Regions from separate parts of the Homo sapiens genome. Here regions 1 and 3 are each linked to region 2. Evidence: promoter capture Hi-C in human tissues and cell types (Jung and others, 2019). All regions are on one chromosome and are shown on one strand. The core of a region is centred on a gene start or on the middle of the fragment in contact, and the rest is flanking DNA. Distances in the headings are between cores, read along the strand shown.

Region 1 (4,578 bases), core at 1,289-3,788, 640 kb after region 2:
ACATCACACTCTGGGGACTGTTGTGGGGTGGGGGGAGGGGGGAGGGATAGCATTGGGAGATATACCTAATGCTAGATGACAAGTTAGTGGGTGCAGTGCACCAGCATGGCACATGTATACATATGTAACTAACCTGCACATTGTGCACATGTACCCTAAAACTTAAAGTATAATAATAATAAATTTAAAAAAAAAAAGACAATAACAACTGTTGGCAAGAATGTGGAGAAATTGGAAAACTTATGTGCCATTGGTGGGAATTTGAAATGGTGCAGCTGCTATGGAAAACAGTATGGTGGTTCCTCAAAAAATTGAAAGTAGGATTACCATAAGATCCAGCAATTTCATCTAAGTATATACCCAAAAGATTTAACAGAAGGCACTCAAACAGATATTTATACACCCATGTTCATAGCAGCATTATCCACAATAGCCAACATGTGGAAGAAACCCAAGTGTCTATTGACCAACGCACAGATAAACAAAATGTGGTGTATACTCACAATGAAATGTTATTCGGCCTTGATAAAGGAGATTCTGACACATACTATAACATGGATGAACCTGGAAGATATTATGCTAAATTAAATAAGCCAATCACAGAAGGACAATGCTGCATGAGTCCACTAATATGAGATAGCTAGAGTAGTCAAAATCATACAGACAAAGTGGAGTGGTGATTGCCAGGAATGGGGGCCAGGGGGAAGGGGGAGCTGGTGCTTAATGAGGACAGAGTTTCAGTTTCACAAGATGAAAAAAGTTCTGGAAATGGGTGGTGGTGATGGTTGTACAAGAGTGTGAATATACTTTATGCCATTGAACTGCACACCTAAAAGTGATGACATGCTTAAAAATAAAATAAAATAGAGATGGCTACTAAGAGGTTAAGTCACAACCCTGAAGCCAGGAGATATTCTCACTCTAAAGGCCCCAGGTTCATGTTTTAATTTTCAAATACACAAAGGGGACCCTAAGAAACAGGCAACAGGAGGCCGGGCGCAGTGGCTCTTGCCTGTAATCCCAGCACTTTGGGAGGCCGAGGCGGGCAGATCACCTGAGGTCTGGAGTTCGAGACCAGCCTGACCAACATGGAGAAACCCTGTCTCAGCTAAAAATATAAAATTAGCCGGGCTTGGTGGCACATGCCTGTAATCCCTACTCAGGAGGCTGAGGCATAAGAATCACTTGAACCCAGGAGGCAGAGGTTGTGGTGAGCAGAGATCACGCCATTGCATTCCAGCCAGGGCAACAGGAGTGAAGCTCTGTCTCAAAAAAAAAAAGAAAGGAAGAAAAGAAACAGGCAACAGGAATTGACTTGCCCGTAAAGAAGAACATCTTGGCTGGGTGATGACAAGGTGCTCGTCTTAACATGGATAACTGGATGTTTATCGCAGGAATTTCATGCACCTTGGTGCATGCTGGTCCTGCTTGTCTCAAGGCAGGGATTCTCTTGCATAGATGGGATACTCTGTTCCCATCAGCCTCCTGCTTGCTCCGGGACAGGGATTCTCCTGCATAGATGGGATGCTCTGCTCCCATCAGCCTCTCTCAGTTTTACTCACGTTGTGACAGTGTCAAGTTCTCTAGTCCTGACTAAGAAGGGTTTAATTTCTTCTGTTGCTGGTAAAGATGTAGCCAGGGGCTTCTGTCTTGGTCAAAGTATTGCTTAGATCAATTACATAAAGCTATACCTGATCAATCCTGTGTTTATCTCCCTGGTGAAAGAAAACCCTAAGTCAGGCCGGGCGCAGTGGCTTACACCTGTAATCCCAGCACTTTGGGAGGCCGAGGCGGGTGGATCACCTGAAGTCAGGAGTTCGAGACCAGCCTGGCCAATGTAGTGAAACCCCTTCTCTACTAAAAATACAAAAAATTAGCCAGGCATGTTTGGGGGACACCTGTAATCCCAGCTACTTGGGAGGCTGAGGCAGGAGAATCACTTGAACCCAGGAGGCAGAGGTTGCAGTGAGCCAAGATCGTGCCAGTGCCCTCCAGCCTGGATGACAGAGTGAGACGAAAGAAAGAAAGAGAGAGAGAGAGAGGGAGGGAGAGAGGGAGAGAGAAGAAGAAGAAGGAGGAGGAGGAGGAAGAGGAGGAAGAGGAGGAGGAGGAGGGGAGGGAGGAGGAGGGGAGGGAGGAAGGGAGGGAGGGAACACAGAGGAAGCACATGTTTCCTTGTAATTGGTGTCAAGGGGCTCTATTACTTTAAGGAAGCCTCTCCCACATGTCAAGTATTTAACTCTCCTCCACTCTTTACACATAAAACAAACCAAACATTCCCTTAATTACACGTATTTATAATCTAATTATGGTTCTGGGCTCAGACAGTTTTATGGGCAAGTCTTTTTAAGCTTTCAAACAGATAATTTTTATGTTATATAAACTATTCTGCAGCCCACAAACATGGAAACAATCCTAATTAATTTAAGAAGCCACCCTAGCCTTAAGTGTCAAAGCCTGACAAAACTAACATACACATTCAAAAACCCTTTGACCTGTCTCAACTATAGATATTGATCTAACATTCTAAATACAACTCTACACAAATTGATATCAGCTTCATTAGAAAATAATATCCATGAATTAATATCATTTGTCACTTCAGTAGTGGCAAATGAAAACCACAAGTTCATCCCATTAAGATTTGTTAAAATGTGGTACCTGCTCTTTAAAAAAAGGACTTACTAAAATAGGAATGTAATAATACTTTTACAAATAAAAAGTATCTATGTGACCACAAAAGCTAGAAATGTATCTAGTACCTACTAGATACTAGCCATATCTACATATTTCTCTAAATGTATCCCAAATAATTTTAGTTCTGAAGGATTTTATAAGTGTCACGTAAAAAAATGATGCTATGATAAAATAAATTTGAGAAATAATTAACCAAATTAAACAAGATTTCATATATGTATTCTAACTCCCCAAGTGCTTCATACCCATTTGACCTATATCACATTGTTTCCACAGAGCATCTCCCCAGACTGGCATTTTATAGAAATTTGCTTTGGAATATGTTACAGGGATGGTCTCCCAACAATGTGGAAAACCAAATAATGATGCTGCTGGCTCCACTTTGACACTGTCCTAAAATTTCAGATCCAGTCATTCTCAGCTAATAGGCTGGTATGGCTTGATATAACAAGTAGATGAATAATCACTGTGGACATTAGGATATTTCAAGAACTCCATCAACCAACTTGGCCTACCGACATTTATAGAACCCTCCATTCCCTCTCAGCAGAATACTCATTTTTCTCAAGTGCATTTGGAACATTTTTCAAGATGGATCATATTTAGGCTCATAAAATATGTCTCCATAAATTTAAGGTTATTTAAGTTCACACCATGTAAGTTCTCTAACTACAATGACTTTAAGTTAGAAGTCAGTAACAGAAAAATCTCTGGATCATTCCCAAATACTTCGAAGCTTAATAGCATATTCCTCAATAACTCATGGGTAAAAAGAAAATGAATACGGTAACTTCAGTGAAACTTATAGCACTAAATGCCTTCATTGGAAAAGAAAAAATACATCAGATTCCACTTCAGAAAACTAGAAAAAGGAGAGCAAATTAAATTCGTCCTAAATAGAAGAAAAGAAATTATGAAAATCAGAGTGAAGTATCAATTAAATGCAAAACAGTAAAACAATAGAGAAAATCAACTAAACTATTAGCTAGTTTTTTCAGATCAATGAAATTGATAAACTAACCATTGTGATAAGGAGAAAAAGGGAGATGATGCAAATTACTAACATTGGGAAAGAGAGGATGACATCACTGAAAATTCTATTAATATTAAGAAGATAATAAGGAAATATGATTAACAATTCTATGCCAATAAATTCAACAACTCAGACGAAATGGACAAATTCCATGGAAGACACAAACTACCAAAGCTTACTCAAGAAGAAACAGATAAACTAAATAGCCCTATGCCTATTAAAGAAATTGAATTTGTAGTTTAAAAACATTCCCACAGAGAGAACTCTAGGTCCAAATGGTTTCAATGGTCAATTCAACCAGTCAAGCAGTTAAGGAGGAAATAATACATTGAATACATTCTTGCATTAAATTAAAAAAGAAAGAACACATCCCAAATCATTATAGGAAGCCAATATTATGCTGATACTTTACTTTTTAAATATGTTCTTACATTTAACATACATTACTTTTCTTTTGTTTTAAATCGTTATTTTAAAAAGCTTGTTTGGTCTATGTTCCATTCACCTAAGGTGCTAAGTCTTAATTAGTACAGATAAATGAATCAGCATGAATAGTATATAGGCAGCTAATATATTACCTATTTCGGGTATCATAATACCTGTAATCCCAGCTACTCAGGAGGCTGAGGCAGGGGGATCCCTTGAGTCCTTGTGGTTTATAGTTCATCACAACACTGATCAGATGAAATAACACAAATGCAGTGACAGTGCTGAGCCTCATTCCCCATACATCCAGTGTGATACGAAAGCCAGGCTTGGGTACGAGAGCCAAATTCAGGGACAGGAGGGAAGGAGATAAAGAATGGTCACAAATTTGACCAGTCACTGGTAATTTACAGTGCCTCTGT
Region 2 (5,064 bases), core at 1,586-4,085:
TAGATTTTTCTTGGCCTCTACGAACATGCATTTCTTCCTTCCAGGTATGTTACAGGTAGTTAGACAGGCATGAGCAGGGCAGGAGAGGACTCTACCCTCCCCAATCCCCTCAAGCAAGAATGCCAGGTGATGGTTTCACAGTTATCACACTGCCTTTCTAAAATGGATAATTTGGCAGATGGGCCAGAGAGAGGGAGAGAGACAATTCCCTGATGGTCCACAGCTGTCACTAAAGTGTTACTTGATGTTAATTGATATTAAAGCAGGTGCCAGGCATAGGCAATTTCCCAAACAGATAAAAACACTTGAGATTGGTAATCAGCTTCCAATAAAATTTCAGAAATTGGGTGAGTGAGCTTGGGCATGCACATTAAGAGACAAAATAGTGGAGTATGACCTTCCGGGGGCATTCCACTGGAAAAGGGAAGAAAGCCTCAGATGGGCATGTGTACAAATTCCTAAGCACATGGTGCATGCTCACCTCCCAAGCATAGGGAGGGCACTGTGCATTCGGGCAGCTCACACTGAGGGAAGAATGAAGGGAGAGGGCAGCAAGACTCCAGAAGTGGGCCAGCATATGAAGTCCCAGGATCAGGGTTAAATGCCACACTTGTCCCTCAAGTTGCCCGCTTGGGTCTCTTCCAAGTGTACTTTCTTTTCTGTCCCAAACTTTTTAATAAACTTCCACTCTTGCTCTGAAACTTGCCTCAGTTGCTTTTTCTGCCTTATGCCCTGTATTAGTCCATTTTCACATTGCTATAAAGAACTGCCTTAGACTGACTGGGTAATTTATAAAGGAAAGAGGTTTAATTGACTCACAGTTCCGCATGGCTGGCGAGGCCTCAGAAAACTTACAATCACAGTGGAAGGTGAAGGTGAAGCAAGACACCTCCTTTGCAAGGCTGCAGGAAGGAGAATGAACACAGGAGGAATTACCAAACACTTATAAAACCATCAGATCTCGTGAGAACTCACTCACTATCAGGAGAACAGCATGGGGGGAAAACCACCCCTGTGATTCAATTACCTCCACCTGGTCTCTCCCTTGACACGTGGGAATTATGGGGATTACAATTCAAGATGAGATTTGGGGTGGGGACACAGCCAAACCATATCATGCCCCTCAGTCTAATTCTTTCTTCCAAGGAGGCAAGAATTGAGGTTGCTGCAGACCCATACAGATTCACTGCTGTTAACTCAGACACCTTCTACCCCTAACAGGTATGGGGTAGGACCCTCTCTGGAATCGGGCTCTTATGGCCTACAGTCAAACAAGGTAGGTCAGATAATTTCTTTATGGCCAGTTATTCCACAGAAAGGCAGAGAGAAAGAGTAATATTTTAAGGTTTCAAGACTGGCTTTAGGAAAAAGGGGTTCTGGTTTCTATGACCTGCCTTGGGGAAAAGGAATTCTAATTTCTATGGCTATCCTTGGGGGACTGAGAGATAGGAGGGCAGAGAAAAATTTCTGCTTTTGAGGCCATTTTGGGGTATTGTTTTCTGAGTTTCAACACTAACAAGTTTGCATGCCAAAATTTCATGAATACTGCTAAAAGATGAAACTCCTGGGTCAGAGACAAAGGATAATACTAACAGCAATAATAGTAGTCACAGTATTGTCATTGGGCCAGTTTCTGAGCCCTAATTCTTGCAAGACTATGTGATGAAGGCTACAGTAGGTTGCATTACAGGAGAGGGGCCCCAAGTTTAGGAAACTCACATCTCTTATAATTGGGAATAAGTCTGCCAGATCTTTGGAGAGACAAGAATTCTGTCTTCCAGGGCTATTCAATGCAGAAACATCCTTGAAAAGATAGTTGGAAAAAGGCAGTCAGTGCCTCTGCTCTCTCAAGACATGCAGGAACATGACACATGTGAATTGTCTCCCAATAGAAAAGGAATGAAAGTGCATCGTGTGAAAAGTATTCTGCATCTGGAGGCTGTAAAGTGATCAAACTGAAGCAGGAATGAAGATCTGAAGGAACCATCCAGGCCTACTGTACCTGGCAAGAATTGAGCATGAACTCTAGTTATCTCAGCTAAACTTTGCAGAAGTCCTCAATTTCACTGTTTTAATGGGCACTTGCCCATTAAAACAGTGGTTGTCATGAGCACTTTCCACATTTATTTCACTTTATCCTCACACTTCATGGAAACAGAGCTATTACAGCCATTGTACTCATGAGTAAATGGACTTTGAAACATGATGACCTGTTCACTTTTTCAACCACAGGACAAGAATCAGGTTTTCTCGGAGCTCTTCTGCCGCCACCCCTCTCTTGTTTCTCCTTACCGCGGCGGGCCAGAAGAAGACTGGCCAAAATAAGTAAACGACTAATGCAAGAGTGGCATAGGTCCTCAAAAAGGCGCTGCAAACTTAAGTGGTGATTGCACTCACGGTGCTTTAAGACCCAGCCACTACTTCGGAAGCAGGAAGTTGGCATCTCTGGTTTCTCCCATCCGCGGGCCTGAGGTTCCCGGGGATTGGTTAAGGTAGAGGCTCCTTTTCCCATTTGCAGCCGGAAGTAGGTTTCCAGTAACACGGAAGCCCTACTACGCCGCCTGGGAGACCCTTCCGTGCTACCCCGGCCAGGGACCCGCCCGGACCTGAGGAGGCGGGAACTGCGGGCAGAAGGCCCACCCCGCTCTCCCAAGATTTCCCGCGCACACCGGAAGTGGGTGGGGCTCCTCCGAGCGCCCCCTCCCTCCCCCTCGCCATCCCCCCCGCACGATTGGCCAGCGCCGCTGTCTCTCAGCGTTCCAGGGGAAGGGACTGGGCGATTCCCAGCACTCGGGTCGCGGGCGTTGGCAGCCGGGCGGGTGGGAGGGGCCGGAGCAAAAGTTCCGGGCGCCCGAGCCGGCTGCTCGTGCCATGGAGCGGAGTCCCGACGTGTCCCCCGGGCCTTCCCGCTCCTTCAAGGAGGAGTTGCTCTGCGCCGTCTGCTACGACCCCTTCCGCGACGCAGTCACTCTGCGCTGCGGCCACAACTTCTGCCGCGGGTGCGTGAGCCGCTGCTGGGAGGTGCAGGTGTCGCCCACCTGCCCAGTGTGCAAAGACCGCGCGTCACCCGCCGACCTGCGCACCAACCACACCCTCAACAACCTGGTGGAGAAGCTGCTGCGCGAGGAGGCCGAGGGCGCGCGCTGGACCAGCTACCGCTTCTCGCGTGTCTGCCGCCTGCACCGCGGACAGCTCAGCCTCTTCTGCCTCGAGGACAAGGAGCTGCTGTGCTGCTCCTGCCAGGCCGACCCCCGACACCAGGGGCACCGCGTGCAGCCGGTGAAGGACACTGCCCACGACTTTCGGGTAAGAGCAGCGATTTGCACGAGGCGGCCGAGCCGGGTCTGGAACCCGGAATCCCTTGGCTCTGCGGCTCCCGCCCCTCCTGCCTGCCAGAGCCCAGTGTGCCCGCGTCTCGCTCCCAGCATGCAGGACCCCACCTCTCCGACCCAGGTTCTCAGGGCTGGCTGCTTCTTCAAGGTCGGCCCAGGGGCCCGTGCTGGGAGAAGAGAATGCGAACGGAAAGTGACAGATGAGGTTACATGATGTTCCCAAGACAGCGACACTTGCTTCTGAAGGGCCCAGGCCATGCACCCCTTGTGCCAGCCGGGTGTGGCCCAGGTCCCTTTAAGCGGCACGGATGTGGGTGCAGCCCACGAGCCCTGTAGCTTGGCACACTCAATTTAGAAGTGGAGGAGGAGCCACAGACCTGGCCAGGGGTGTGGAGTCTTAAGATTTCCCCCAAACCAGTCACCTACTTGCCAAGCTGATCCCGCGGTTTGTATTATCTGAGTGAGAGGTCTCTGACCCTGGCTGGCTGGCCTATTCTGGTTTATAAAGCAGCATCTCCATATCTAGAGTTCTAGTGACTATACATAAACCCAGGAGCAACTTACAGGGCAAAACTAACATGGAGAATTCTTTGATATAGGAAGGAAAAATGAATAGAAGATAAGGGTTAGCCTAACTCAGCATTTTCCAAAACGTTTAATCTTAGCCCATAGGAAGCAATGCATTTTCCCTTGTGACCCAGAACATATGTATCAGTTGAAACAAAAGTTTTCTGAACATGTCCATGGCACTCTGATATTTTCTGTTACTTCCCTTTGTTTTTTTTTTTTTTTGAGACCTCTATCGCCCAGGTTAGAGTGCAGTGGCGTGCTCTTAGCTCACTGCAACCTCCGCCTCCTGGGTTCAAGCGATTCTGGTGCCTCAGCCTCCCGAGTAGCTGAGATTACAGGCATGTACCAACACGCCTGGCTAATTTTTTTTTTTTTTTAATTTCTAGTAGAGGCAGGGTTTCACCATGTTGGCCAGGCTGGTCTGGAACTCCTGGCCTCAAGTGATCTGCCCTCCTCTGCCTCCCAAACTACTGGGATTACAGGCGTGAGCCACTCCGCCTGGCCTCTGTTACTTTTAAAAATTACCCAGAATGTGAAACATTGAATTTATTTCATCACCTGCTAATGCATGAGTCAGAGCCCCAATTGGGAGAACACTGGGTAGCTGGCCCGAAGCTGCATGGACTGGAGAGGAGGAGCTGCCCGAGTCCCCTGTGCCTGGTTTCTGGCCCCCTCTGTGGCCCTGCCTTCTTTTTTTGCAATACCTTTTTAAATACGGAAGTCTGTTCCGCTCCAAATGCATTTGACAAAGTTTAATTGAAGGGGAATGTAAGGATGCTGTCAGTACGCATGTCTCAATGAGTAACCCTGTTACTCCTGTCATCTTTTTTGTTTAACATGGGTCCATGTCAATGCTTTTCCTGTTTCCACTGGCAGAAGTGACAGATCCTGATTTGGGACAGCTGGAATAAGTGCTGGCCAGCCAGGGGTCTGGGGCCCAGGTAAAGGAGGGATCATGGTTCAGGTCATGACTGATGCCTATTTGGCTGGCCGAGGTGCTGATCAGGAGATGCTGGGGTCAGGGCTGAGAACACCCAGGCAGAGCCCCCAGGCTGGGGCCAAGCCAGGATTCAAGAGCAGAGAGCCATGCACCAGCAGATGCCTGGTACTGCAAGGTCCCAGGGATACTGCAGGAGACAAGATAGACCATTTCCAGCCTCAA
Region 3 (4,642 bases), core at 665-3,164, 610 kb after region 2:
AGGCACCTCAATACACCTCTGAAGGACAGGATACAAATGGAGGGGTGTGGCCAGTGAAGGAAAGCTGAGCATGCGTGGCTTTGAACCCAACCTTGGAAGCCACAGACCTACCCAGCAGACTGGGCTCAGAGTGCAGGGAAAGCAGAAAAGGTAGGCCAGGAGACAGGGCGTTAATGGAAGGTCTGTGTATGCCCAAGTTCACCACCCCACCACAAAGCAGCAGAGAAACTAGATGTCTACAGTCTCCTCTCACACATACATGACAGGGAAAGGCAAAAGAAAAAAAAGAAAAACATCAACTAGGGGACACAAGTTACCTTGCCTACAGCCTTGTAAGGACAATGACAAAGTTTGAGGGCACTTATGTGATGACTGTCCCCCTGCCCTCTCACCCAGTTAGCAGGCCACGTCCTCTCCCACCAAGATCCAGGTCAGTCTTTCTATTGCCTCATATTTAAATATGAACAAGCAATCAGAGTTTACCAGACAACTAAAGAAAGCCTACAACATCAAAAAGAGAGACTATTGCTGCAATAGTATAGTATGTTCCAAATGTACTAGTTGCAAGATTTCAGGAGACTGGGTTGCCAACAAGCTCAACAGAACCAAAGCACATAACTCCCCCAAATCCGATTGGTGATATCTCCTTTATTTCACCTGCTATGAACTACTGAGAACAACTGCAAGTTTGTTTGCAAATTTCCAAAGAACAGCTGGTGTTGCTCCCCTAAAGATGCACAGAGAGCCAAGATATCAGTTTCAATATGCACTGCCTGCTTATAAATAAAGTCAGCCCCATTAGAGATTTCTGCCAGTGTCTGTGAATACTCCACCTAGAGGGCATTTGAGTTTGCTACACACTTAAATACATTTCATCAGCTATAGTCACTTTTTGCTTCTTACAAAAACTTTAAGAGCTAGATTCACATTGCAGAGCTGCTGCTCAGGCTTTCAAGATTGAGAAAAAAAACTAAATGCTGTTATTCAGAAACCAATAGCAGACAACAAGAGAAATATTGGGGTGTACCTGTGTTGTTTCTTGCTGTCACTGGTACTGAAGCCGATGCATGATCAAAGCTTCATTTCCCTGCTTAAGTGCTGCTACCATTTTATTCACAGGAAATACACATGTAGGAGATGCTGGTGAGGATTCCTTCAAGTTTTGGGGAGAACTAAGCCACCCCATGTGATTAAATTCATATCCTAGGTATTGAAAATGATGGATGGATATTTCTTCTTTTTCTTTCTTTCTTTTTTTTTTTTTTTTGGAGACTGAGTCTTGCTCTGTCGCCCAGGCCGGAGTGCAGTGAGTGGCGTGATCTTGGCTCACTGCAAGCTCCGCCTTCCGGGTTCACGCCATTCTCCTGCCTCAGCCTCCCAAGTAGCTGGGACTACAGGTGCCCACCACCACACCCGGCTAATTTTTTTTGAGGCCTATTATTTTTTTAGAAAAGCCAGGAAATGTCATTCTATTGACTCTTCTGATTCCTTTTTCTTCCTCCAGTTCAGGACTTTCAAGGCTGCTGTACTTTGCTTTCAAAAATAGAACTTGAAACAAGTAGCTGTTGTGATTCGTTGACATGCTATAGATAACCATTCCAAACAAACTCTTGTAGTTTAGGGCTAGACATTTTGAAGATTTCTGTCAGTACTCACTACAGCAATCGCTAAATTGCTTTCAATTGAATCATGAATACTTCGTTAAGGCCAGTGCAAATCTCACAGTCAAAACGTTAATTTGCTTACAGGAAGTGGACCTGAAGCTATTTGAAAGAATTCTCAGAAAGAAGAATCAAAAGACACAGTCTCCAGTGTCCTAGTTCTAATCTTAGGAAGTGAAAGCACAGCTTCAATGCCTCATGCCACCTAAACCAGGAACAAAGGCAATTCACAAGCAACTCGGGAGGCTGAGGCGAGCAGATCATGGGGTCAGGAGCTCGAGACCAGCCCGGCCAACATGGTGAAACCTCGTCTCTACTAAAAATAAAAAATAAAAAATAAAAAAAATAGCTGGGCATGGTGGCGGGTGCCTGTAATCTCAGATACTGGGAAGGCTGAGTCAGGAGAATCATTTGAACCCAGGAGGTGGAGGTTGCAGTGAGCCAAGATCGCACCATCGCACTCCAGCCTGGAGGACAGGGCGAGATTCATCTCAAAAAAAAAAAAAAAAAAAAGAATATTGGATAGTGACCACATTTTTAAGAAGTGAAATTGGAGTAAGTAGTGAGGGGCAGGAATCAACAAGCATAAAACTTGGCTAAATTTCAACCCTGGCCTTACAGCATTGACAGAGGAAGGTTGCTGACACTGTTATCAATGTTTAGTACCGGAATCTCTTGTGCTTTCAACTGGTTCTCACAGACAGGTCATAGGATTCACCCCAGAGAGACTCTATGAACATAGAGGAAAGCCACCCGAGAGCAAATGTGGCCCAGTCTGTATCATTAAATCTAATCAGCCCTTACCAAGCTGAGAGAGCGTAGAGAGAAACTCTGAACTCTCCTCCAACAGTTAATATTTATTAATGAGCCCCCAACTCCAGTTCTCACAAACTAAGTGCTGTCAGAGGTGTAAGTGTCAGTAAAGCAGACAAAAATTACTATAATATTTTGTTGCACTTCAGCCATAAGCATAGTCACCAAGCACAGACACTTCCAAACGTTGATTTCACAGAGCTTCAAGTTGAAAGGAATCCATTTCAGGTGTCCCATGGAGGTGTACTTTCTATGAGGAAGGCAGGGGCTTTTGGCTGAAGAAATGGAGGAGTTTGTTGGTGCACTCCAACTTGAACGCATCCCTGACTTCCACAAATATGCACAGAAGCTTCTAAATATTTATCTGGATTTCTAGAACTGGAATTTAAGTTCTACTTGAAAGTCCTAGCGATCCACAGAAGCAAGCAATCCAATAGTAGCCGTTTGATTTTTTTAATATCAAAATAATAATAGTTAGCAAACAAACTCATTGTACTTAAAAGCTGGCTACAGTGAGCATTCAGAGGAGCTTCTAAATGGGATCTCATGCCATCAAAAACTAGAAGCAAAGCTCTGAACCCTTTGCAGTCCTCCCTAAAGTGTCAAGGAATCCACACCATCAATTCCTTGTATTTTCACATACTGCCAAAAAATGTCACAAGACTATGAATTTTCTAGCAGGGGAAAGAAAAGGCCTCCTGTAGCATTGAAAATGTCTTCTTGAGACTCCATTAAGCAAAGACCAACACTCACTGTGTTTCCTGTGAACACACCTGTGTTAATCATACGGTTTGTTGAGTGAAATGGAGTTAGCTGACATATAACTACATTTTCCTAACTGTATCACTTTCTGACAGATGGTTACAAACTTCACTTTCACTGTCTAGGAAGTGAATTAAGCAATAGAGCTTGTATGACTTGTATGAGCTTGTATGAACTAGAGTTCTGTAAAATTCTTATAAACAAGCTGAGGTTTGCAATAGGCTTCTCAAATGCTTCCAACCTGACCGCATTAATGCAATAGCACATTTTGAGGGGTGAAGTGTCTCGGTTCTCCTTGACATTGCAAAGAATTCTTACCTTTGCCTACAGGAAGTCCAATTTTAACTAATAAACTGGTAAGAATTTGCTATGTATAAGTTTTTAGCAAGAAAATGTATTTATTAGAGATTTAACAAGTATAGACAGAAGTATACAAATATTACTGTCAGATATGAGGACTGAAATCAACATGTTGACACCAATGGCTTTCCATTTTCCTTTAATCAAGAGATCTACTTTTTGTTTTCATTTTGTTGTTGTTGTTTTTATTTTGAGCCTCATAGCAGGTGCAAGTAAGGCATTAACAGCCCTGGACACCCAGCATTCAAAGAAGCCTTCAATGTGTTGGCCTGCACTGTTTAGGGCCAGCTTCAAAGCTTCTCCAAAGCTTTGCAAAGTACACACCAGCTACTCCATTCAAGTCTCCTTAAAAAATTGTTTTCAAAGTTCTGTGGCCTCTCAAATGAAGACATTGACATATTTTGTTTGTCCAACAGCCCTAACTAAGGTGAGCCTTCAAAGAAGCCTCTAGATGTTGTTCTCGCCGGCCAGGCAGAGAGCACAGGTGCAGGAGGTGGCTCACTCAGTCCTCATGGGACCTCCAAGAAATTCACTTTCATTCACCCTGTGAGGCATTTCTGTAAATTGGACTTATAAACGCAAAACATATATAAGGCAGTAAAACAAAGGATTACCATGCTACTCGATTAGTCGTCAGCCAGCAGCCTCGTGGACTCCAACTAAGACTCCCCGGCCTTTTTCTCTTGGCCAAGGAATAGAATGCAAATTGTGCTCCTCTAAACTTTGCAACGTGTGTAGGAGTAAACTGTAGGGATGGTGGACCAAGGGGGAGAGGACACAGCATGAGACAGGGCTAAGTGTACTAAGTACTAAGTACTAAGTAGCCCTAAGTAGTACTAAGACCCCTATCAGTACATAGGGGTCAAACCGCTGGACATGTGGGATTGAACATGTTAGCTACTGTAATTGAGATTAGTTCTAATGGTCTGCTTGGCTGGGAGATTATAACTTAGTGGTAGCCTATATTCACCAAGGTTGGGATTCCAGAACTTTCCTGGTATAATGTAAAGGACAGAGTTCAAAAGCTTATGGATATGGTAATGTTG

The links. Contacts are between HindIII fragments. The study calls those that stand out against the background at their distance.
Region 1: a fragment that was not itself captured here is called in contact with the fragment with the promoter of TRIM35 in region 2 in 2 of the 25 tissues and cell types used here (dorsolateral prefrontal cortex and lymphoblastoid cells).
Region 3: a fragment that was not itself captured here is called in contact with the fragment with the promoter of TRIM35 in region 2 in 1 of the 25 tissues and cell types used here (lymphoblastoid cells).

What each region holds. Positions count from the first base shown.
Region 1 is chr8:26,671,460-26,676,037 of GRCh38, reverse strand. No RefSeq gene overlaps it. Among named protein-coding and RNA genes, the nearest start is that of DPYSL2, 160 kb to the right of the region's middle. The HindIII fragment of the contact is 4,501 bases long and covers 288-4,578 here.
Region 2 is chr8:27,309,043-27,314,106 of GRCh38, reverse strand. TRIM35 (tripartite motif containing 35) reads left to right here and starts at 2,835. Exons shown (of 6, transcript NM_171982.5): 1 at 2,835-3,306. The coding sequence starts at 2,872. It also overlaps a transcript of PTK2B not described here. RefSeq lists a silencer at 2,617-2,826 and enhancers at 2,977-3,126, 3,137-3,356, 3,757-3,866. The HindIII fragment of the contact is 16,679 bases long and covers 1-5,064 here.
Region 3 is chr8:26,697,499-26,702,140 of GRCh38, reverse strand. No RefSeq gene overlaps it. Among named protein-coding and RNA genes, the nearest start is that of ADRA1A, 170 kb to the left of the region's middle. The HindIII fragment of the contact is 4,697 bases long and covers 1-4,262 here.